6 separate regions of the Homo sapiens genome follow, and all the other regions are linked to region 2. The links are contacts of gene promoters, found by promoter capture Hi-C in blood cells and fetal thymus (Javierre and others, 2016). All regions are on one chromosome and are shown on one strand. The core of a region is centred on a gene start or on the middle of the fragment in contact, and the rest is flanking DNA. Distances in the headings are between cores, read along the strand shown. Region 1 overlaps HOMER1 (homer scaffold protein 1). Region 2 holds the start of COX7C (cytochrome c oxidase subunit 7C). Region 3 holds the start of TENT2 (terminal nucleotidyltransferase 2). Region 4 overlaps CKMT2-AS1 (CKMT2 antisense RNA 1). Region 5 overlaps SSBP2 (single stranded DNA binding protein 2). Region 6 overlaps LOC105379087 (a long non-coding RNA gene).

Region 1 (4,168 bases), core at 1,038-3,537, 7.1 Mb after region 2:
GGGGTGGGGGCGCTGGAGCGGCGGCTGCGCTTCGGCTTCGAGCCCAGCTCTCCTGGCCCCAACGCGGGCTTAGCCTCCCGCCTTGGCTCGGGCAGGCGCCCGTCGACCCTTCGGCCCCTTTCGCCCGCCCTGGAGCTGGGGGCAGGGTGCCAGTGGAAGCGTGGGGCTTGGCTCTGTGATTCATTCATTCTCCGCCGACGGGAGCCTCAGACCCGCTGTGCTCTGAAGAGAGGAGGGAAGAGGGGGCAGCCGCGAATGAAGGGCCGGGCACCAGCCGGGCTCCATTGTGCTCGGCGGCGGGGGGCGGGAAGGGGCTGAGGGAGGTGGGATCGGGTCCCCTCCTCCAGCTCTCCGGCGTGCGCTGCGCCCCCAGCCTGCTGCCAGCCTGGAAATGGCTCCGTTTATTCTCTTCGGGAGAATGAATCGATCCTGCCTAGCCTTCTCTTCGTCCTCCCCACCTCTTCTCTGCTCCGAGTCTTAGGAGGAGAAACATTTAAAAAGACAGATTCCAATGTGGAGTGCCGTGCAGGTTGCGAGCTGCCGGGTTTGCACTTCGAGGAGATTTTCCTGTGTAGTTTTTTTCCTAATGTGAGCGCAGGGAAGCCGTGGCATTACTGCTTTTGGGATTTTTATTCACGTGCACGTCGCGTTTGGTTGCTCGCTCCACCCCCGGAGACCTGGTGTGGTGGAGAAATTTGAACCCGCAGCCTTAGCTCCGAAAAGGCCGAGTTACCTGGCTCTCCCTGAGTGTCGAGGAGGACATGAGTGAAATGACCAGCGAACTCATTTTTTATAGGACTCGGTGAAGCCGGATTCTGCATTTCCCTACTTGTAGACTCATTTTGTGGAATAGAGTTGATCGCTGTCTCCTCCGCAAAGCATTTTAACTCGAATAAGCAAATGCCGCCTCTGTTTGAACGTTTTGGTATTTACAAGAGAGAAATCATTTTACCTAAGAGAACTAATTGAATTGGCAGCATCCTTGAAATACCTCCGGACAAGGATCTGGGGGTGGGGGTGGAAAAGCAACTGCGAAATAGCAGACGGAGAAATTCCTTTGGAAGTTATTCCGTAGCATAAGAGCTGAAACTTCAGAGCAAGTTTTCATTGGGCAAAATGGGGTAAGGATTTTTGTGCTTAACACAGCTTCGAATCTGTTTATGTATGTGTATTATTGAGCGGTGGTGGTGATTGTGTTTTGTGTTTTCAAACAAACTTGCCACCTTGCTAAGCTGGTCATACTTTAAAGAAATAGGCATGCTAACCTTTTAGGTTATTTTTGCATTTTTGTAGAGCGGTACCAGAGGTCATAATTTAAAAACACATATATCGTTTGTAACTTGAATATGGATTTGTGAGTAATGTTTACAAAGACAACGCATTCTACACTTTACTGGTCAGACTGCTGCATCAGTTTGTAATCAAAATCACATTATTTTAGCTTTTGCTGACGGTTATCTTTCAAAGAGAAGTACTGCATTCTCTCAGTACTTTTAGATAATCAGTTGCACAAAGGAACGATTTTAATGAGTGGTTAGACAACAGTCCTTGAAAGTGATCCAGAGTAAATTGTTGCCCTCACCGTGCCCTCTGTCTTGTCCTTGAATATTCAAAGCTAAAATGTATAGAATTGATTTACTGGGGCGTTAAAACGAAAATCTGAAATTCAGTCTTACTGATGCGGTCACCACGGTACGGGTGCATTTCGTAGGAAAAAGCTTTTTGTTTAAGGAACTTGTTCACTCCTTTTGTTTTTCGCTTTTAAGCTCAGCCCTTCAGTTTGAGTTAACAGTATCAGATCTACACCTTCCTTCGGACCCAGAGCCAACTGAGAGTGCATTTTCCAGTCTTTTATTAACTCTTCACACTGTGGGTTGATGAAATGCTAGTGACACTTCCTAATTTAAGCTGGAAACCCATAATATATTAATGGAGCAATCTGATTTCATTGACAGGTTGTCACTGCTTTTTGGCAGAAGAACTTCCAGAATTTTCTCTTTTTGTGTGTGTGTGGTTGAACAAACACATCTGAAGTGTAGTTGAGGGGCATGTTTTAAAGAATGGACTCTGCAATTCATCGTGATGGTTTAGGTGTGTACACACGCTTGAAACTTTCTGAGGAAAGTTCTTGAATAGTACCTTCCTTTTGGAGTTAGAATTTGAAGTTTAACATGCATAACTTTGAAAATTTAGAGCATGTTGTAGGAGACGTTCCTCAGAAATTAATGACAAAGTTATAATGGTTTTAAAAACTTGAATGACAAGTGATGAGAATATATATAACTTGCATGATTTGGGGGTACCGCTAAGAGTAATTAAAATACCTCATTCTATTTCTAGCGCTGCTATTAGTAGCTTAGTGATCTGAGGCAAATTACTTGACCTCTGTGGACTCTATTTCTTACCTGTAAAATGAACGATTTAGAGATGACTTAAAGATTTCTCCAAACTGTAAAAAACGAATTGCTTTCTTTTTATTCTCCTCCTCATTTTAATGATCACTAGTTGGTTTCTGCAAGTCGATCTTTCTGATGGAGACCTTTTTCACTCTAAGCAGTTTAAGCGCTTAACGCTGAAAAATAATGGCATTTGAAAAATGTTTTGGATGAATTGCACCAATTTTAAATGAGAAAAATACTGAAAAATACTACTGTTCAAAACCTTAGAAATATGGCTTCCCTTGAGCATCTGCAGCTCTGTTTAAAACATGTTGGAGGAAAAAAAATCAAGCAGCAGTTTTTCATGTTGATGGCTGCATTTTGTCTAGACTGTGGAGTAGTAGCATCATGGAAGAAAATCAGTTTTCCAGAACCTTTAAGCTGCATGAATGCCTGTCATTTTACCAAGGGAAGCTTAGGATGAATTTTTTTTTCCCTGCCTGAGGTTTCTTTGTACAAATAGCACAGGAGGACCCCAGCCCCACAGCCCCATGCAGATGGCAGCCTGGCGGGGGGTCGCACCAGTCCTGTCCTCACGTTGGCAGATAGAGATATCTACTCTGAAGCCTCTGTAGGGGCCTGGGCACCTTTGGGAGCCTGAGCTGGAACTGAAGCTGGAGCTGCAGCCTGGGCCTTGGTTTGATCCTTGTCCTTGGCCTTTGGCCAGCACACCCTGAGCCCCTTGGCAATGCGGGCACGAGCATGCTTCCCAAGCTTGGGGTGGACAGTGTAGGCAAGTTGAGCTTGCGGCTGACACCCTTTGGGATCTTGGGCTTAACCTCCTTGGGCTTTAGGAGGGCCTTGATAGCCTTGGCATGTGCACTCATGGCCTTGGCACTGTTAGCCTGCATCTTCTTTAGGCCCTTCTTGTTGTGTTTCTTGGCAAACTGCATGTTCCTCAGGAACTTGGGGTCCACCCCCTTAAGAGATTCGTATCTTTGTGCTTCGGGTTTCTTGATACCATTTCTGTGCCATTTTTGGGACTGGTTGTGTGTGGTGTGGTTCTTGGACTTGGCCATGTCTGCACCTTAAGGCGCGGCTCCTGAAGCGCCTAGAATCTGAAGAGACAGGATGAATTTAATACTAAGGGGGCTGTTGTTTAAAGTGGGAAAGTTAGCACCACACATAACATGCATTTAGACACTTAGCATAATTAATTTGTTTATAAATGAATGTATCTGCCCTTTAGTTAATAAAGTTCTATATATGGACTGAGGAGAAAAAGGAGCGAGCATTTTGTGGTGCTATTTTTTTTTTTTTGGAAAGCCTGTATTTGGGGCTATGACCCTTTCTCATTGATAGTGACTTGAGTAGAGAGAGGAAGGGTAGATGGAAGTAGAAGAGCATACAGCAAAGGCATTTGCTGACGTTTCCACACTTTATGCGTATTTATGCCTAATAAATGTTTGTGGAATTAGCATAGCTGCCTGGACCTATTTCAAGCAAAAGGAAACAGGGCTTTAAATGGCTTTTAAAGCTTTACCTTGGCAATCCATAATTACCTTACTGTAATAGATATCTAAAATTTAATACTGTGGGTAAAGTGTTTCACATATTACAACCTTCTTTTTTTAAACTAATGTTAGGTTATAATAAGGATTTATCTTCGTCTTAATTGTAGATAATTATTGCAAGTCTAGGGGCAGTCTAAGCAAAGGAATTATTTTTAATAAAATCAGTGATTGGGCAGAAAAAAATTATGGCTCCCCTAATAGTAGTTTATGAACTTT
Region 2 (4,327 bases), core at 101-2,600:
AAATACAAGTATACAGGAAATGCTAGTTATATTTTACATCATCAGGTTAACATATGCCATAAATCATAACATCGTTTTAAACATTTATCTTTCAAATCCTATGACCTTCATCACAAAACACTACATGGCAAGAAATAATCTGGCTTTACTAAGCACTAGGCAATGAATGGTCTTGAGGACTCAAACGTCAAATAGTGAGAAGTTTCTTACTTTAGAAAATCGAAAAAACTACTGTCCTAAGTAGTCACCTTAGAAGATACATGGCAATGTTAAGTGCAATACAGCTCTTTTTTTTTCTTTTTTTTTTTTTTTGAGACGGAGTCCCGCTCTGTCCAGGCTGGAGTGCAGTGGCCCGATCTCGGCTCACTGCAACCTCCACCTCCCGGGTTCAAGCGATTCTCCTGCCTCAGCCTCCCGAGTAGCTGGGATTAGAGGCACACACCACCACGTCCGGCTAATTTTTTTGTACTTTTTAGTAGAGACAGGGTTTCGCCATGTTGGCCAGGCTGGTCTGGAACTCCTGACCTCAGGTGATCCGAACGCCTTAGCCTCCCGATTACAGGCGTGCGCCACCGCACCTGGCCCACAGTTTTTTTTGTTTGTTTGTTTTTCATTACCAAGCACCTTCTCTGGCCTTTATGACTAGGCCTCGTGTGACCCTCCGAGATTGTTACTGCTATGTGGTTTAAGTTATTTACACCTGAGGCCAAACCCAGCCTTAACTGAGGTGAAGGGTTAGTACTTCTAACTTAGGCAGCTAGTTTAAAAAGCCTGTTCCATAACCAGAGGCCCTGATTTCCTCATGATTTTCCAATGACCTTCATTTCGGGTCCGATGACCTCCAGCTCGGATTTAACCAACACACCTACAGCCGTGGCCTCCCGGAGCCATCTCAGGGCTTTCTGCGGGGCGGGGGAGGGGGCGTCAGGTGGCTGATGGAGGCAGGGCTTCCGGATCTACCTGCCCATTCCTTTAGCGGCTACGCGCTAGGATGCCCAGCTTCCTCACTGGTCCTTGGGCTAAGTGGAATGCTAGTCTGCGTCTCAGCCTGGTTTCTGGCTATCATCTCCCACGCCACAGCCCGGAGGCGGCCTTGCAGGTGCGCGAGTCACAGCCAAGCGCCCCCTCCCCCAACGAAGCCGTGCCCCTTACACACTAACCTTCCCAGGGCCCTCCTCATAGTGGCTCCTACGGACCACAGAGGTTGTGAACCTCCGGATGCTCTGGCCCAACATACCGCTGCTGGAAGCTCTGCGAAAGGCGCAGAGAATGAGGACAGATGAAATGGCGGCACCTCACCAAGACCTTTTTTTTCACGACCTTGTTCCCCGGTGCGCAAGGACTGAAAAGAAAGATGGGAAATGGGGCGGAGCCTTGAGGAAACGCGACAAAGCGGAAATCGCCCTGGATTGTGGGAATTGTAGTTCAGACCATTGCGGAGCCTTATCAGCCCCCGAAGGATTGTGGGAAATGTAGTTTCGCGCCAGGCTTAGGTCTAGGATTCCTGGGGCCTGTTACCGGAAACGATTTTATTGAATCAAGTGAAGCAGTTTCACCCCGTATACTCTAGTCTGTTGAAAAGGACAATAAACCCATCCCTTTTCTCTTCTTTCTTTCTTTTTTAAAAATAAAGTATATGCTAGGTGTCAATGATTTCGAGGACTTTTGCCAATGCTGAGAGATATGTGCTAATGATCCTAGCTGAAGAAACAAAGCATAAACACAAGTAATCAAACAACGTGCAGCACAAAGGACTTCAGAGAGAAAACTGAAATGCTAAGGGAATGATCACTAAAGATAATGGGAATCGAATAAAAAAGAAGGAAGAACAAAGGGCAGGGAAAACTCAAGTCTGGTATGAGTACAGCATGTGTGAGGAGTAGAAGGGAAAAGTGGCCTCTGACACCTGGAGCTAGCCTGGACTAGGAACTGGTGTCCGCCTGATGAACGTACACAATTTCAGCAAGCATTAGCATCCAACAAGACCACTCTGACAGTGTTCATTAAGAAAAGAATATGATCACTGTGTAATCACATCTGAACACAGATAAAACATTGTCCAAGCCACGAAAATGACCGGACATCACCCTATCTGGTTTAATTTGATGACTTCTGCTTCTTTACCAATTACAATCTTAGCCTTGATCTAGCCTTTCTTCCTCCTAAGATTTGGTAAGGTAGCCAATATTAGGAGAAAAAAATCCCAAATCCAATAAGCATTTTCTAATATTTTACAGAGAACCCTTACTGCAATGAATAATAAACCCCGTTTGTCAATTACATGTGTGCTTCTGGTGGTCTTTGACCAGAAGGTATTGAGAAGAAACCAGTGATAAATGAACCTGGGAAAGTGGTGTTAGGTTAGATTGTGAAAGGCCCTGGTAACCTAAATGTTATGTTATTCATCTGTGGGGGAGTGTATATTGCCTCACGTGTCTCATTTATATAGCATTAGGAAACAATTCCAATAAGACCTAAGGTTTGCTTTGAAAAGGGCATAACATATATGCTCTTTTCGTCTTTTTTTTTTTTTTTTTTTTCAGTTTTTGGAAGAGAACAACCATGCCCCTCCCCCCCAAAAAAACACTTAAAAAAAACACTTAAATTCATATTTTGTTTCAACAAGTAGCTTCTTTTTGAGTAGGGGTTCATGAAATGCATCATAACTGGTGTCCTCTACCACCTAATTTATAGAAGTTATGTGACATTCCATTTTTTTTTAACATTCCGTTCACTGCCTTTACATATTAAAGAATTCTGATTTAACTATAATTGAGAAACTTTTTCACACTTAATATTTCTAGATTACACTTTTCAATCTAGTGTGAGTAATGTTATCTGTGGATTTGGTTCATTGTTGCTTCTAATTCACATTAATTGAGCCTCCATTGGGTATCTGGCTTTGAGTTAACTCTTTAGGGACCTGCAGGGCAGAGATTCCAGAATATGGTTTCAGAACTGTCTGCCTTCTCATGGGCTTTGTGGTAAGTTAAATACAAAAAAAAAAAATATGTTTGGCCGGGCGCGGTGGCTCACGCCTGTAATCCCAGCACTTTGGGAGGCCAAGGCAGGCGGATCACGAGGTCAGGAGATTGAGACCATCCTGGCTAACACGGTGAAACCCCGTCTCTACTAAAAATACAAAAAATTAGCCGGGCGTGGTGTCGGGCGCCTGTAGTCCCAGCTACTTGGGAGGCGGGGGCAGGAGAATGGTGTGAACCCGGGAGGCAGAGCGTGCAGTGAGCCGAGATCACACCACTGCACTCCAGCCTGGGCGACAGAGCGAGACTCCATCTCAAAAAAAAAAAAAAAAAAAGTTTATACCTATGTAAATATGGGGGAGGGTGGTGGTTACACTCAAGTGCCGGGCATGTGAGTGAAGCTATCTTGGACACTTCAGCCCAGCCCCGCCCTCAGCTGAATATTGCTGAGTGACCACAGTCACTGCTGTGTGGAGCAGAGTTGTCTAGTTGACTCCTACCCAAAATGTTGTTCTAGAGATTTGTGTGGTATAATAAAATGGTTGTTTTTTCAAGTCATTAAGTTTGGGGTAGTTTTTTATGGAGCAACAAAGAGAGAACTAGAAGTAACACAGCTGTTCTATTTAAGGAAATTAGCCTTTCTTCTAGATGCCATGAGGAAAACAGTTTCTCATTACCAATCTGTAGATGAGAATTTGGCTGTATCATGTAAAATATTATCTTTGCTTCAAATATATCTTTCTCTGGAGTCATGTTTCTGTGATAGTTCTTCAGCTATAATGAAGATGGATGTGCCAAACATGCCAAAACATTGAAAGTATGGGAGGTAGAGTGGTTCCATTTGAAGGTGGTGTAGCAGCTGGCATATTCTAGAGAATGCTAGACACTCAGAAATGCACTTTGCAGCTTTTTGATGCTACTGATAAGTTAGGAGGTAAATTGAAGTGGGATTCAAAGTGGCTGAGATCACTCATTCTTGGCAGATTACTGACTTTTGTATTAGTGGCTAGATACCACCTATAGAGCACACTCTTGAGAATTATTTCAAAATATTTTCTAAAGAATATTTTTGTCAATAAGCCACACTGAGCACAAAATAAAATTTTATACTAGTTGCTATATGGTTTTTTCTTAATTACTAAGTAGAAAGCAATTAATAAATTAGTTAACTAATGAATGTAGTCTGAGTTTAGGAGTTTTATGCTAATTTTGGTCTCTTTCAAATTCACTAAAGAAGGAAGAAAAAGTTTAAATAAATCTAGCAATATTCCATTTTTGTGTAGGCATCGTAGGAAATTAAAGATGGCCACAATTTTTTGGAAATTCTTTCTATTGAGTGGTGGGGT
Region 3 (4,411 bases), core at 562-3,061, 7.0 Mb after region 2:
ACGTGCCTGTAATCCCAGCTACTCGGCAGGCTGAGGCAGGAGATCGCTTGAACCCAGGAGGCAGAGGCTGCAGTGAGCCAAGATAGTGCCATTGCACTGTAGCCTGGGTGACAAGATCAAGATTCCGTCTTGCAAAAAAAAAAAAAAAAAAAAAAAAAAAGATTAATTCCTAGTAATTTCTAGTTATAAAGTATTTGGTCCTGGAATTTGCAACCTGGAATTTCTGTCCTCAACTTGACCTCTCCTCCAACAAATTAGAGAACACTCAAGGTTATATATAATTCCTTCATCAGGATTCTTTAGAAAGCAGAATATACCTAGAATGAAAACCAGAAATTTACTGGCTAAACCAAGATACTGTCCATTTTGTCCAAATACCTTTGATATCTCAAACCCACTTTTCTCCACAATACGAAAAATCCAGTTCCTAAATCCTGCCAACCCACTGTGAAAACTACTTCCAGGTTTTGAACAGGATATTCCTTTTGGTTAAGAATTAAATTACACCCAAGTGTTCAAAAAAATAATCTAGTCACATGGCTCCAAATGGGCATTTCTTAAACAACTCATAAACGGCCTATTTCACATGGAACCTGTTACAGGACATTTCCAGAACAGACATAATTAGGGCTATTCACACCAACAAAGTAACGTCACTATTACTGGCTATTAATCAGTATAAATTAATAGCCTTATGGCTGTTAATCAGTACGTGTTAGAAGCCTGGTGGTACTGAACCATACAATATGAAGATATTTACAAAAGTTACTATGTTACCTGTAATATAAAAACACAGATTTAGTAATCAGTTACAATCTCTTTCTTCACAAAATCATACACTGCACATGTGTTATTTAGCTTGTGTTTTACAGTTTCCCTTTGTTTCTTCTCTGTTCACCCTAATGAAAAATATCTGCTACTTTAAACAAAGAGTTGAAAGAGATAAGACAAGTAATTTAGAGAATCCATAAGTTTTGAGACATATAAGCCTTTCGTGTTCTCACCTTGAGAGACGAAGAGCTTTTCTACAAAGGCTGAACAAGAAAAGAAACGCACACAACAGTCTTAACCTGTGCATTTTCCTATAAAGTGAAAAGCTGAAGCAATTTCATGCCATTTAATTAAGGCTTAAAAGATAAATGCCTTTTAAATTTTTTAATTAATCCAGCTACGTACCTTAGTTCTTCACCACCCTTTGAAACACCATGCAAGGGTCCCAAGACTATCTTCCTCTTTTGGTCCTGGAGTGGTGGACGAGGCAGTACGCGAGGAATAGAAAACGAGTAAGCAAAGTAAGCGGTCCTAAGATTCTTCAAAATGTACAGCAGCCCAGATGCCGCCCATAAATTTGGAATAACCAAGAGATACTGCTGGAACCTCCCACGCAAAACAAAACGCTACCGTTTCGGAAAAGTTTCCCGTGCCCCGCCGCCGACCTGGGCCTACACTGCTGCGTTCCTCTCCGAAACCCCCTAAACTCACAGGTGTCCTCCGGGAAGGGCTAAGCAGGGCCTACCCGCACTGCCCGTTCAGAAGTTCTAAGGCCCGAGCTGGGCGTACTTGGTCGTAGCTTTCTCCCGAACCAAAGGAGGTAGTGGTGGCCCGTGGGACAGCTAGGCCCAGCTCCGGCTCCGGCTGAGATCTAACCCCCCTCACGGCTGCCAGGGGAGGAGCAACACAAGAAAAGGTAGGGGCTGCAAGGATATAGAAGGTTGGGGGCGGTGGCAAAAAGCGGAAGAGCAAAAAGTCGCCGAAAAAGCGGCGTAGAAAACCCTGTCAAAGACACCCGGAAGACCGACGTGACCCCGGATGAGAATAGGCAGCGGGGAGCGAAAGGTCACACTTCCGGTGGCCGCCTCCCTCCCACCCCCCAACCCCCCCCACCCCCCAACCCCCCCCACCCCCCCCACCCCGCCTATGAGCGCTTTGCTTGAATGCGCAGGCGCAAGACAGCCGGATTTGAAAGGAGTTTCTTAACTGCTGCCAGCACAAGTTGGGAAAGGGTTAGGACTGCACTAAGAGGGGTGGAGCAGGCAGTCGCCGGAGGGCCACTTCTGGGCCCCTTGCCTGAACTCACGTGCAGCCGTTCTAGCTGTAACAGACGTTTTCTGTGGGTCCTTCGTGTGTTGGCCGAGTGACTTGTCCCCAGAGAAGCCTTTCTTTAACCAGTGTTCCCCTAATCTTCTCCCCCGGAGCAACATTAAACTTTATCTGTTCTTTTGCCCCTCCAGTAACCTGAGAGCTTCTTTGGAAGGAAAATGCTTTCTTTGGCCGGACGCGGTGGCTCACCCCTGTAATCCTAGCACTTTGGGAGGCTGAGGCGGGCGGATCACGAGGTCAGGAGTTCGAGACCAGCCTGGCCAACATGGTGAAACCCCATCTTTACTAAAAATACAAAAATTAGCCGAGCTTGGTGGCGTGCGCCTGTAACCCCGCTACTCAAGAGGCTGAGGCTGGCGAATCGCTTGAACCCGGGAGGCGGAGGTTGCAGTGAGCCGAGATCGTGCCACAGCACTCCAGCCTGGGCGACAGAGCAAGACTTTGTCTCAAAAAAAAAAAAAAAAAAAAATGCTTTCTTTCTCTCTAAAGCCTGGACTTAGCGCCTTGCCCATAGTAATAGCTGGTATTCACTAATTCAACAAATATTTATTGATATCGCCTCTTGAGTGAGCTTTAATAATTTGTAGAAATGTCTAAATTGTTTAATAATGCAAATCTGTTAGCTGTATTCCTTTATTGTCCACTTAATGTCTATAAAATCTGACCCCTCAGGTTCTGAAATTGGTAATTTGTGTGTCATCTTTTTTTCTGATCGATCTGGTGAGGGGCTTCTCGGTTTACGGATCTCAAATCTCAAAGCCCGTTTTTGCTTTCTTGGATTTTCTCTACTGGTTTTCTGTTTTCTATTTTATTGATTTCTGCTCTTATGTTTATTGTTTCCTTTACTCTGCTATTTTTTAATTTTTAAATTTCTTGTTTTGTTTCTCTAGTTTCTTAACTCAGAAACTGATGACCATTAATTTTAGATGTCTCTTGTTTGTACAGGCATTTGGTGTGATAAGTGTCCCTCTATACTGTTTTAGCTACATTCCACATATTTTGATATATTGTATTTTCATTTTCCTTCATTTCAAAATACTTTGTAATTTCCCTATTGCTTTCTTTTTTTGACCATGGGTTTTTTGTAAGTGTTGGTCTGCAAATGTGGAGGAGTTTTCCAGGTAGCTGCCTGTTACTGATTTCTGATTTAATCCCATTGTGATCAGAGAAGGTACTTCGTACACTATTAATAATTTTAAACTTATTGACACTTGTTCTGTGGCCCAGAGTATATAGTCTGTCTTGGTAAATACTCACTGTGCATTTGAAATGAATGTGTTTTTTGCAGTTGTTGCATGGAGTGTTCTATAAATGTCAATCATGTCAAGTTGGTTGATATTAGTGTTCAAATCTATATCCTTTCTGATTTACTGTCTACTTATTCTACTAATTATTGAGAGTATTGAAATTTCTGACTATTACTGGTTTTTTTCAATTGTAGTTCTATCAATTTCTGCTTCATGTACTTTGCAGCTCAGCTATTAGTTGCATAAACATAGTTATTCTCTTATTTGTATGAATTTATCCTTTATGAAAGTTTCATTATTATGAAATTATCCACTTTACAAATGACCCTCCTCTTTGCTGATAATGTTCTTTGCTCTGAAGTATATTTTGTCTGATAGTATTACAGCTACTTAGGCTTTCTTTTGTAGGGTGTTAACATGGTATATATAAGGAAAACATAATTCCAATTCTAGATAAAGTCCTCCAAAAATTGAAGAGGAGGGAATACTTCCCAGCTCATTCTGTGGGGCCAGCATTACACTAATACCCAAACTCTAGATATTAAACAAGCAAACTATGGACCAATATCTCTCATAAACATAATATGCACAATTCTAGTCACTTTTATTTCACAGTATATAAAAAAGATAATACATTATATCCAAACAGGTGCTTATCCTAGGAATGCAAGGTTGAATTAGCATTGTATTGACCATAAAAGAGTATACTGGTACTTGCTTTACGGAGAAAACTTTAAAGACTGTTTCCTAAGGTGGACCCAATGGGAAATTACACAGGTTTACATGAGACAAGGCAGTAAAAAGTAGATTATATAAAAAAGATATATAAATATATAAATACATAAAAATATATAAAAAAGATAATACATTATAACCAAACAGGGGCTTATCCTAGGAATGCAAGGTTGAATTAGCATTGGTAAATCAAGCAATGTAATTTACCATATTAACAAACTAAAAAAGAAAAACCATTTGATAATCTCAATACATGCAGCAAATGCATTGGACAAAATCCAGTATCCATTCCTAAGATTACAAGGAAACTTCCTCAACTTGATAGAGAG
Region 4 (4,156 bases), core at 810-3,309, 5.3 Mb after region 2:
TTTTTTTGGAAAGTATTTACTTTTACAGTTCAAGGGATTATGTTTGTATTCAGTTTTCCCATCTACTTATTGAAATACTGTAAATGTATTTTTTATAACAATATTATCAGGAAGGTAAATGTTAAATAAGGAATTCTGGTCGTCTTCTCAATTTTCCTGCTGCTGTTTCTTTTCCAGTCCTCAAATTGCTGATTTATAGCTTGATTCACTGGCAGAGACAGTGGAGTGTGCTTATTCCATATTACCAGGAATTGAAACCACTACCATTAGAATTTTAAATCTTCATTCTTGCCCAGATTCTCTCTGAATATTAGGCGCTTGGCCACCCTAGATGAAGTGACCAATAGGTGATGAGGACTAGAAGTGTCCAAGGCCCAGCCTGGGTGGACCATCCCTCTAACTGACTCACACATTAGAGTGAACAGCCTCCAGGCAGCCAGTTTACCTATAGAGCAATTTGGAACGGAGAACAGTGAATCTGGAAAGGAAGGCTGGGATGAGATTTTGCCAAATTAAAGTGTTTTTAAATGTGAAATTATAGTGTTCAAACTTTATCCATTAGAGCTTAAGCAATGAACAACTGTGGATAGTGTTTTAGATCATACAGGAGATCCCATAAAATAGATCTGGAGAAGAGGATTGTGTGGAAAACTGTACCTAATGCATTCTCCGGGCAGTTATTGAACTTTTTTATAGTATGCAGAAAAATACAGCAGAAGAGAGAGGAAAAAAATTAATGACCCTGCTGTTGGAAATAAAAATAAGATCCAGACCAGTGACATTCTGACATCTTAAAAACCTGTCAGTGATATTTTTAGCTGCTTTAGGATCCTTACAATAAGGCCCATGAGTAATAGGATTGTGAGGGTTTTTTTCTTTATACATAATTTTACAGATATTCTTTAATGGGTGTGTATTACATTTAGAATCATTATTAAAGAGTTATTTTTAATCCATGGGAGTTTTGACACAGCACATGAGAATTTCTAATTATAGACTCATAGAAATACATACCTCTTAAAACCCTATCTTCTTGTTTTACAGATCAATAAATTAAGTTTCAGAGAAGTTAAGTGATTGCCATAGAACACAATGCTAGTGACTGAATTTTGTTAACTAACATGCTTTCATTTGCATTGTTGGTTTTCTCAGTAACAAAATTACAAGCAATACTGCTTTATTTCAGAAGTGAAAGAAAATCTATTGGAAGTGTGGAGCAAGAGAAACCTATTAGTGGAAGTTACTTGAGGTTCCTAGGCAATAAGGAATAGGAATAATATAAAGTTTGTGTTACCCTCTGAAAAAGCTTGAATCTCTTTCATCTTCTTTGCTTAAACGTGATAAAGAATAGTGTTGGAACACTAATCACAAAAATGATGTATCCTTCTGACTCATCTTACCATCTTGTTGTATTTCTCAAATTTGAGTTCCTAATCATGTGTTTCGGTGGTTAGGATGTTAAGTGCTTCAAATGAATACTTAAACCTAAATTACAAACAAGTGGCAAGATTTGCAAGCTCTCCTTTATTCTCTGAAATGCGTACTTCCTCCTCCTTATGTCTGAGGAAATCATACCAGATACGGGCCTTAGACTGTCCATTCCAAGGAACAATGAGAGGTCTTGCAGTTACAAATGGAATTCTGTAAAATAGGATAGGTGAGGAAAAAGCACTTTTTGATGTCTACTATTTGCCAGTACCTTAAGTGCTAAATATATACAAATGACAGAGAGGTCCCTGCCCTTAAGCAGCCAAGAGCCTGTGAGAGTAAGACAGATTGCTAAACCACTAATAAGCTGATGTTATAATTAGTGAGGGAATTATGGTGATATAGAGATTACAGATAAAATATTTCTTCCTGGGAAGTTTTAAGAAAAACTTCACAGTAGAATGTGTTGCAGACAACTGGAGAGAGGGATCAGGGAGGTGAGGAGGAGGAGTCAGTAAAAAATAAATACATGTACTCGATCTAAAATCCTCTCCAATAAGCTGAAATGCTTTTGCAGATAAGACTGACACACGCTGACATATACACAAAAAAGAGATAAAAATTTATGCTAGTACTTCATAAAAGGTCAAAGTGAACATAACCAAGTGGCAAAAATATTTCGTACTGATTTAGTAACTACTATATAAAATAATCTACCAGTAAGTCTGGGTAAAAACAGTACAGTAATTAATGATTTCAGATGAACTAATTTAAGAGGACCACATACGAGGAAAAACATAACCTGCCCAAAACTATGGCATAGCAAATAAATGATCATAGGAAAAGAGGTCCCACAAATATTTAAGAAACATTTATGGACCAAGAAGATGTAGAAAGTCACATTTACATATATTCCGGAAGATGTGAGAGTCTAATGGTGAGCTCTATGAAGATGAATTGGACACAGTTCATACCCCCAGAGGAATCTGGTAAAGAAGACAAACAGGGCCAGGCGCGGTGGCTCACTTCTTTAATCCCAGCACTTTGGGAGGACGAGGCAGGCGGATCACCTGAGGTCAGGAGTTCGAGACCAGCCTGGACAACATGATGAAACCTCGTCTCTAGTAAAAATACAAAAAAAAAAAAAAAAAAAAAAGCCAAGCGTGGAGGCAGGCACCTGTAATCCCAGCTACTCAGGAGGCTGAGGCAGGAGAATCGCTTGAATCTCGGAGGCAGAGGTTGCAGTGAGCTGAGATCGCTCCATTGCACTCTAGCCTGGGTGACAAGAATGAAACTTTGTCTCAAAAAAAAAAAAACAGATTTTAAATTCCTCAAGGAGCAAATGAAGGAAGGCACTTGTGTAGTTTTGCCCAGGGAAGCTTTATATGGAAGTCACCAGCAAGTTTTCAGAGAGGAAGATTAGCTACACTGAGTGTATGTGGCTTTTAGATCTCTAAACAGTATGTCTTGGAGAAGTACAGCAAACCAGATAGAGATATATATATATAATAGATACATATAATTATATATCTATTATATATAACCAATATTATATATAATAATATAGATATATTAATCTATTATATATAGTATATATAAGATATATACTATATATTATAGATATATCTATTATCTTATATATACTATACATAATTAAATATATATTAGATATATAATATATATCTAATATATAATAGATATATATCTATTATATATAATGTATAATATATAATATGTAGATATATCTATTATATATAATATATATTATATGTAGATATATCTATTATATATAATATGTAGATATATCTATTATATATAATATATAATATATGTAGATATATCTATTATATAATATATAATATATATTATATGTAGATATATCTATTAAATATAATATATAATAGATATAGATATATAATAGATATATCTATAATATGTAATAGATATATCTATCATATGATATATGATATATATCATATGATAGATATATAATAGATATATCTATTATATATGATATATAGACATATATAGACGTATCTAATGATATAGAGAGATATCATATATGATATATCTATTTTATATATATTATATATATATAAAATTTTTAAAAATTCTTCTTTTAAATACTAAGAAGGACTTTTAAGACCTAATCCTAAGGTACAGTATTCAATCTACATGTGTTGCCACTTTTCCTGTATTGGATGTTGGTTTTTAAAACTGAAATTTAGAATGGTAGTGATGGTTATGCAGCATTGTGGATATGCTTAATGCCACAGAACTGTACACTTAAAATGACTAGTAGTAAATTTTGTTACGTATGTTTACCACAATATAAAAAAAATTTTTTAAAAACTTGTGTTTAACCATTTTATGAGTAGTATTTACTTGATTCTCTTGAAGCTCAGTTTTACATCTTTCTCCTTTATTTACTACTTAAGTTACTCTTAAATGTAAGAATCAAGGTGTTAACTATGTATACTTTCCCTTATCACAAAATCTGCAAACAATTTGAATTTAGAATGTGCAATTTGTGAAACACAGCATTCTTAAGAATGTGCATGTTTGTTACATGGGTATATTGCATGATGCTGAGGCTTGGGTTATGATTGATCCCATCACCCAAGTACTGAACATAATACCTAATAGTTTTTCAACCCTTGTTCTCCTCCCTCTAGCAGTCCCCAGTGACTGTTGTTGCCATCTTTATGTCCATGAATACCCAGTGTTC
Region 5 (4,236 bases), core at 327-2,826, 5.1 Mb after region 2:
ATAAAATAAAGCCATTTAAAGTATGACATGTAGTTATTTACTTGGAGTCTGTTTTCAAATGAGTAATTTGTATAAGAAACCCTATAAGTCCTCAGAGTGACACTATGGAACTGATGAATGACTTTAGAGCAGCTTTCTTAAATTGGGAAGTCTTGCTGCTTGGGATCCAGAGGGAAGAGAGTAGACATGGCCATTGATCTAACTAAAAGTTTGGCAGTTTTTGTAGAATAAAGTACAGTATCTTGGTATGGTGTGAATACACATCCATTGTAGGTACCCAGAACTGAGTTTTACTCTTTTATATCTCTGTCTTATTCAAAGATTTCATTGTATGCTAAGAAATTTGAGTTATGTATTAAAAGCATCGATATGCTATTTATTCATTCTTGTGGCATTCATACAAAAGGACAGGCAAAGGACTTTGATTCCTGCAATATAAATAGGCAGCAGCATTCCTTAGACCAAGTGGATTTTCTTCTCACTTATGTATAATGATCAAAATAATTTACTACTAATAAAATGCACTAAATAACACAAAAGTACTAATTCTTTTGTTTAAAAAATTAGATTATTAACTCTGTTACCTTGTAAAGTTCTGTAATTTTATGGATGAGTAAGTAACAAGGAAGCTTCTCTTGTGAATTTCTATAACTTATAGAACATTAATGCAATGGACGTTTCTTATTTTAACCAAAAAAATATCGAGAAGGGTAAAAATGCTTTTTCCTACTTTATGTTCTTTACCACAAGAAAGCTTTTAAGAAGGAAACTATAACTTCCTTATCACTCTAATAACCAAATACATTCATATCCTTTATATAAAAACACAACGTAATCTTTTAATAGGTGCTAATGTGGATAATATCTTTGATTCTGTAACTAATCTGGGATATACCTGTTAATATCTAATTTTGAACTCTATATAGACCTTTGTTTTCTTTTATCATGTATTTTGATTTTTATCTTGATATATTTACTATATTTTAGTCACTAGATCTTTAGTTTTATTAGATGAAACTGTTGAAAACTGATAATATGTTGATGTTGGGTTGTAAATTTAAGACTTTGACGTGGATAAGATTATAAATACATGTTAATGAAAAAGGATACCAAGTAATTTAGTTTCAGACCAAGGTGATCATTCATACTTTAAAATCTAAGTAGAATGAAACTCTGATATAGTAGAAAATATGTGACAGCAGGTTTTAAGTCACATTTGGTTTGCAGGCCTAAGATTGGTAGTGGTAAAGCTGCCTTGCCATCTAGTGGTAGTTTGCAGATGGCTCCACTTGTTCAGGGCCTTTTTCTAGACTTTCTATTTTTAGCAAGGCTGCACTGTAGCAAGCTGACCTAATGCTTTGACATAGTAATAACGCAATAAGAAAAAAAAATAGTAAGAAATTTCCTCTTTTCTCCATGGTGGTGTTATTGACTAAGGAAGGCTCCATATAAACAACATTCATAAAGCAACAAGGACAAAAAGCTCAAAGTGTATAATATTTTTGATATTTTAAAAGAAAAAATCAAAAATGAGAAAAATAATTATTTAATATGACACTCAAAACTAAAAAAGAAAACCAATAATATATGGTTTTATAAGTCCTGGTTAAATGTTTTTGGGAGATAGATGTTTATTTCTGGAAATAAATTCTGCATTTTGAAGATACCTTAGTATCTATATTCATCTACTCTGCTATTCCTATTCAGACTTCCTAAATCCAGCCGTTTATATACATATAGTTAAATAATCTACATGCCCTCTCAATTTCCTTCTGTTATTAGTCTTGGCATTACCTTCACTTCCAGTGGTTTGCCTTTCCTCTTATCTTTCTTGACTATGGTTGTTTCAGAAATTAGTCTCAGAAAGTACTCTAAGCCAGGAGAAACTCCCTTTCCCTCTTAGGAAGTTATAAATACCATCTTAGATCTTAGATAAATGAACCAAAAGATTACTTGTTATATCCTTCTTAGTTTGAATGAGTAGGGTACTGAAACTCTGAAGTAGAATTAATTTATTAGACTAGAATATCTAACAGCATTAATATATATAGTTTAAAAAAATTCAGACGTTAGAAATAGTATTTCTCAGAATTAAATACACCTAGGATTTAGATAGTGGAGGTGAGGAAGTTGGCTTATTTATCAAACCTCAAGAAATAAAAATTAAGTTTAATTTTCTTAAAAATATAATTTTGTATCTTTAAAGAACACAGATTCTAAATGTTGAAAATAGAACAGATCTTTCCCTGTTATAAAGATAAAAGCAACTAAAAAAACAAAGGTGCCTAACAGCTGCTGGCTTTGATAATGCTGTCCTGCAGTTGTGGTAATAGTTTTTCTGGCCTCAACTATTAGAACAAATTAAAACTGCCCAGCTTGAATAACTAAGTAAGCTTTTTTAAAAATTGCAATTCAGGCAACTAAAGACCCTACAGCAGTAACTGGATGGACAGAGAGCAAAGAAGGGAGTGTCAGGTATTCAGAGTCTTTACTTGGGTTTTCCAGTTAGAATCAAATGAAACACTTTCCTATTAGAAATCCAATTTTTTGTTGTTTATTTGTTAGCCAAACTGCGTATTTAGGAGAAATTTAGGCTGGTCATTCTAGACCAGTATTTGGTTTTCCTTTCACTTTTCATGCTACTCCTGCAAGCCAAAGATGTCCAACACATTTAGTATGAAACAATAAAGCATCATAGTTTAAAATCACATCTGAGATAAGAGCTTAGCTATTGTTCAGATCATTTGAAATTATAGTTTTTCTTTTGAAAATATTATTGAAAATTCTTCCGAGTGCTGTAGTTTTTATTGACATTTCTTGATAAAAAAAATTTATATAGAGAGGAAATTGTAAATATGCAAAGGCTATTTATAACACAATTTAATTTAGTTTTTATTTTAGTGTTGGTTACAGAAACAAAAATGCTCCACATTCTTTGGGGAATTAAAGATAAGGAACAGGCATTTAAATATACTATTAATTACATATTTAGGGGGAATAGATTTGTCTTAAGCATATATTAGAAAGACTTTAGCTTTTTAAAAGAATAACTTATTACAAGGTAGCGTTCAGGAACAATTTGTCTTATGTTCTATATCAGGGGTCAACAAAATTTTCCTGTGAAAGGCCAGATAGAAAATATTTTAGGCTTTGCAGGTCACACGGTCTCTCACAGCCACTCAACTGGGTTGTAGCATAAAAGCAACCATAGACATTATGTAAATTAAAGAGCATGGCTGTGTTTCAGTAAAACTTCACTTACAAAAAAAAACAGGTGATGGGCAGCATTTGGCCTGTGAGCCATAATTTGCCTACTTCTGTTCTACATGAATGTGATAAAAGGTAGCCTATGAGAGATCCAAAGGGTAAGGACCAGCGTTTCTCTAAGGGGGTTCTGTGGAATACTAATACGAGAGTCCTGGGAGCCACCCAACTCTTAGGGGACTAGAATTCTTGGGGGTAGGGAGTATGGGGCTACAAATCCTTTAGTTTTAGTTATGGTTTTGTTGTTTGTTTTGTTTTTAACAGATAAGTCTTACAAACTAAAATTTGAGGATCACTAGCTAAGATTGTCAATGATATTTAGCAACAAATATTGCCCCCCTGCCATTCATACCAGAGTCACTACAGTGAACAAGATAAATAGAAATTCTTGTCTTCATAGAACTTAGTCTACTAAGGGAAACTGAGCAAAATAAATAACTATTTTAAAATATGTGATATGTTAGTTGTGATAAGGGCTAGGGAGAAAAATGAAACAGAAAAGAAAACTAGGCAGCATTGCAAAAGTTTTGGATAGGGTGGCCAGAAAAGGGCTCATCAAAAAGATGTATTTGAGTAAAGACCTGAAGGAAGAGAGGGAACAAACCATGTAATATCTGGGGGAAAAGTGCTCTAGGTTAAGGGACAAACAAGTGCAAAGGCCTCCAGTTCAAAGCATGACTGTTTAGGGACAGTAAGATAGTCTGGCTAGATAAAGTAGAGCATCAGCTGGGGAGAATTGTGAGATAGGAAGTCATAGATAACAGAAATCCAAGTCAAGAAGAACCTTGTAGGTTATTGTAGGGACTTTGGATTTTCCTCTGAGTGGAGGGTTTTAACAGCATCATTCTGGCTGCACATGGAGATTAGTCTGTTAAAAGAAAGTGTGGAAACAAGGAGAGCAGTTTGCATGTCATTGCAAAATTTTGACAAGAGATTATTATACCACCAAGGAGGTAGCAGTGGTGAGAAGTA
Region 6 (3,997 bases), core at 896-3,395, 7.5 Mb before region 2:
TCAGAGGTGGGAGAAAAAGGCTATTATAAATTGGAATTGTTGTCCTCTCTGTAGCAAATGCCCAAATACCGGTGCTGTCATTAGGCACTTTAGTATAATTTTGGAGATTCATCCAAAATTCAGGAACTCTAACACTGACATTCTCTAGTACATGGGGTGAATGTCCCAGTCAGCATCTCACAATTCCCATGGATCTCCTCTTCTGGTGGCTTACTTCACACAACCTCATTCTGCTGGCTGGTTTGCTTCTTCTTTCTTTCTACTAGATTTGATTCTCTCCTTTTTCAAAAATAATTATACTTCAGTGTTGTGGGTTGAATTTTATCTTCCACAAAAGATATGGTGAAGTCTTTCCTAACCTCAACTACCTCCGAATGTGTCCTTATTTGGAACTAATGTCATCACAGAGGTAATCAAGTTAAAATAACGTCATTAAGGTTAGACTGAATCCAATATGACTTGTGTTCCTATAAAAGGGAAAACTTTTGATGCAGAGACAAGCACACAGGGAAAATGCCAAGTGAAGATAAAGGCAGAAATCTGGGTGACGCATCTACAATCCAAAGAACACCAAAGATAGCCAGCAAACTACCAGAAGCTAGGAGGAAAGCACGGAACAGATTCTCTCTCACAGTCCTCAGAAGGAACCAGCCCTGCCATGACCTTGATCTTGGACTTCTAGTCTTCAGAACTATGAAAAAATGAATTTATGTTGTGTAAGCCACCCAGTCTGAAATACTTTGTTATGGTAGGCCTAGAAAACGAATACACCCATCCATGTATGATCATGTCCACTAGCTGTTGGGAAGACATGACAGTTCTTATCTCCTTACTCTCTCATCAAAGGTACCCTCAGTAATTCTCTCGTCTTTAAATATTTTTAGGAAAGAGCCAGGTACTTGACTTTGAGACTGCCATTTATGAAACTCCAAGGTTATTGGCCAAGTGCTTTCTCCATCCCTTCAAAACAGTCTTTTACCATCTGCTGACTCAGTGGAGGTATGAGGTAGTGAAGGGCCAGATCATGCAGGACTTTATAGGCTTATAGAAATGGTTTTGGATTGTATTCTATTTGAGTGAGGAAACTTATTAAAGATTTTGATCAGGGAAGCAACAAGTTCTGGTATGAATTTTTAGAAGATATCCACAGCTGCCAATTGGAGACTAGATTGTAGGGAGGCAAAAACAGAAGCATGCAGAACAATCAATTACAGCATCTATTGTGGACTAGAATAGTTGTAGTAGAGATGCTGGGAATTGGATAGATTTAGGTTACCTTTTGAAGACAGGCAACAGATTTTCCTGAGGAATTGTGTGTGAAATACGAGAGATAAAGAATCAAAGGACAACCTGAACAATTGTAAGAATCAATGTGTCATTTAGTGAGATGAAGAGGTATGCAATAGGAGTAGCTTTTGGAGGTAGAAAATAAGAAGTTTGAAATGTATGTTGAATATTTTAATAGATATGTTGAATAAGAAGTTAGATATATGAATATGAAAATCAAAGAAATCGGGGCTGGATATGGATATTTGGAAGCCATCAGCATCGTGATGCCATATAATAGTGAAGGGAGTGGATGGGATAAACTCAGGAATAAAGGCAGATAAAGAAGGGAACACATCTCAGGCACATTAACATCTAGAGGTCAGGAAAAATTCAGCAAAGGAAAATCAAAGAGCTCCATAATTTCACAAAAGTCAAATGCAGAAAGTGTTTCAAGTTTTAAGAAAGAGGATGTTAAATCGTGTTAAGTGCTGCTGAATGGTTACAATAAAGACCGAGTTGCCCACTGGATTTATCAGAATTGTTTAAATTCTCAGATATCTGCACACAAACTCTTCTTTAGCTCTAACATTTAAACTATTTCAGAAGTTTCACATTTGAGTGTGCATAAGAAGTAAAGATCTAGAGTATAAGCATAACTTCATATATTCTGTACTTTGTGGGCCGTTTAGGGGATTTTCATGGTTTTTTTTTATCATTAGGGAGTTTTATCATAAAGGCTTAGTTTAGAAACAAATCTCTGTTAGGGATGCAGCTACAGCTTTCCACAGCTGTTTCCAACCTATCCAATTACTATTCAAGAGATCAGAAAAAGGTCAGGGTCAGAGAGCCTATCCTTTACATATTTCCTCTTTGTTGTCTTATCTTTACATAGCTCACAAGAAAGCTCACACTATTTTATTCTCTCTTTTCATAAAGGAATGGTGAGAAGAAATTTAAAAGAGAGACACTAAGTAGAAAATGGAAAGGTTCTCTAGGACTAAACTGAAGAAGACTGGTCTCTGTACTACTTAAAACTAATCACCTATTCCTGATGATTTCACTAGTATGACAGAGACTTAATTACCATTTCTCTTCCTTTGCCTACCACCTCTCATCCAAATAAAACTTATATAGGAGTCCATGTGAAATATTGTATAGTAAAGAATTGGGCCTTTCCTAAAGAGAGTTCTGGCCTGTGGCCTCAGATTCTGGGAAATAACCTATCATAGCTGGCAAAAGTGTTTTTGTTTAGGAAGACTGACTATGTCCAACAGTTTTAGGGTAGAGGCTCCCCAAGCTAGAAAGACCAACCACATGACTTAGAGGCTTTGGGTCATGTATCATCTGACCTGAAGACTGAGTTCCATATGGACAATGGATCAGTGATGCCTCCACAATGGAGCCCCTCAAAAATTCTGAATGTTGAAGCTCTCGTGAGCTTCCCTAACTATTCCCATTTAGGAAAATAAGTGCAGCTCACTGCCAGTGCTCATTTAATTTTACATAAACATGCTCTTTGAGGCTGAAGCAAGTCTGATTGATTTTCTATGTGAAAAATAAAATATGAAAACTGTTCTTGGAGTTATTTCTAAACGGAACTAACATCAGAATAGTCTGAATCATCAGAATGATCTCTTTCAGAAAAATCAGATTCATCAATTGAATCTTCAGCCAACAACTGTTTGAGAATGATGTTAACATCACATGTAGGAATGCTTCATTTTCTAGGATTTGACATTTTCAGCAATACAGAATTACTATATTTGCAAATGGAAATGCCACTACTAAAATTTGAATGCTATAAATAGAATGTCTTTTGTTTCAAAAGTTGATATACTAGAGTGATATGAAAATAATAATAAAAGCAAGATACTTCATGGCAAATGCATTAGTCCATTTTCACACTGCTGATAAAGACATACCAAGGACTGGGCAATTTACAAAAGTAAGAGGCTTAATGGACTTATGGTTCCACATGGCTGGGGAGGCCTCACAATCATGGTGGAAGGTGAAAGGCACATCTCACATGGCAGCAGAAAAAGAAGAGAACTTGTGCAGGGAAACTCTCCTTTTTAGAACCATCAGATCTCATGAGACTTATTCACTATCATGGTGACAGCAGGGAAAGACCTGCCCTCATGATTCTGTTACCTCCCACTGGGTCCCTCCCATAACACATGGGAATTCAAGATGAGATGTGGGTGTGGACACAGCCAAACCACGTCATTCTGCCTCTGGCCCCCTCCCAAATCTCATGTCCTCCTATTTCAAAACCAAGCCAATGGTCCCCCAAAGTCTTCACTAATTTTAGCATTAACTCAAAAGTCCACAGTCCAAAGTCTCATCCAAGATAAGGCAAGTGCCTTCAGTTTATGAGCCTGTAAACCTAAAAGTAAGTTAGTTTCTTTCTAGATACAATGGGGTACAGACATTGGGTAAATACAGCCATTCCTAATGGGAGAAATTGGCCAAAACAAAGGGGTTACAGGGCCCATGCAAGTCCAAAATCCAGCAGTCAAATCTTAAAGCTCCAAAATGATCTCCTTTGACTCCGTGTCTCACATCCAGACTATGATGATGCAAGAGGTGGGTTCCCATGGTCTTGGGCAGTTCAGTCCCTGTGGCTTTGCAGAGTACAGTCTCCCTCCTGGCTGCTTTCATGGACTGGTGGTGAGTGTTTGCAGCTTTTCCAGGCACACGGTGCAAGCTGTCAGTGGATCTACCATTC

What was found. Contacts are between HindIII fragments. The CHiCAGO score rates a contact against its expected background, and 5 or more counts as called.
Region 1: a contact is called between a fragment that was not itself captured here and the fragment with the promoter of COX7C in region 2, in 1 of 17 cell types (naive CD8 T cells). The highest score is 6.7, in naive CD8 T cells.
Region 3: a contact is called between the fragment with the promoter of TENT2 here and the fragment with the promoter of COX7C in region 2, in 1 of 17 cell types (naive CD8 T cells). The highest score is 6.7, in naive CD8 T cells.
Region 4: a contact is called between a fragment that was not itself captured here and the fragment with the promoter of COX7C in region 2, in 2 of 17 cell types (non-activated CD4 T cells and monocytes). The highest score is 7.0, in non-activated CD4 T cells.
Region 5: a fragment that was not itself captured here is called in contact with the fragment with the promoter of COX7C in region 2 in 1 of 17 cell types (monocytes); the score reaches 6.5 in monocytes.
Region 6: a contact is called between a fragment that was not itself captured here and the fragment with the promoter of COX7C in region 2, in 1 of 17 cell types (non-activated CD4 T cells). The highest score is 5.7, in non-activated CD4 T cells.

Annotation. Positions count from the first base shown.
Region 1 is chr5:79,509,723-79,513,890 of GRCh38, reverse strand. HOMER1 (homer scaffold protein 1) reads left to right here. Exons shown (of 9, transcript NM_004272.5): 1 at 1-1,121. The coding sequence starts at 1,117. It also overlaps the pseudogene RPL29P15. Among named protein-coding and RNA genes, the nearest start is that of HOMER1, 2.3 kb to the left of the region's middle. RefSeq lists a silencer at 1-184. The HindIII fragment of the contact is 1,134 bases long and covers 1,721-2,854 here.
Region 2 is chr5:86,614,964-86,619,290 of GRCh38, reverse strand. It overlaps COX7C (cytochrome c oxidase subunit 7C), which reads right to left and starts at 1,350. Exons shown (of 3, transcript NM_001867.3): 1 at 1,161-1,350. The coding sequence starts at 1,235. RefSeq lists enhancers at 260-925, 1,223-1,312, 1,245-1,539, 926-1,591, 1,603-1,682. The HindIII fragment of the contact is 5,230 bases long and covers 1-4,327 here.
Region 3 is chr5:79,609,841-79,614,251 of GRCh38, reverse strand. TENT2 (terminal nucleotidyltransferase 2) reads right to left here and starts at 1,811. Exons shown (of 15, transcript NM_001114394.3): 1 at 1,177-1,811. LOC124901014 (a long non-coding RNA gene) reads left to right here and starts at 1,915. Exons shown (of 2, transcript XR_007058840.1): 1 at 1,915-2,110; 2 at 2,232-2,781. RefSeq lists an enhancer at 1,007-2,206. The HindIII fragment of the contact is 9,139 bases long and covers 1-4,411 here.
Region 4 is chr5:81,295,042-81,299,197 of GRCh38, reverse strand. All of the region lies in intron 1 of CKMT2-AS1 (CKMT2 antisense RNA 1), which reads left to right. Among named protein-coding and RNA genes, the nearest start is that of CKMT2-AS1, 4.4 kb to the left of the region's middle. The HindIII fragment of the contact is 1,501 bases long and covers 1,309-2,809 here.
Region 5 is chr5:81,504,186-81,508,421 of GRCh38, reverse strand. The region is part of intron 5 of SSBP2 (single stranded DNA binding protein 2); the gene reads left to right. Among named protein-coding and RNA genes, the nearest start is that of ACOT12, 110 kb to the right of the region's middle. RefSeq lists a silencer at 1,186-1,335. The HindIII fragment of the contact is 1,639 bases long and covers 757-2,395 here.
Region 6 is chr5:94,116,945-94,120,941 of GRCh38, reverse strand. All of the region lies in intron 4 of LOC105379087 (a long non-coding RNA gene), which reads right to left. Among named protein-coding and RNA genes, the nearest start is that of ARB2A, 7.3 kb to the right of the region's middle. The HindIII fragment of the contact is 8,496 bases long and covers 1-3,997 here.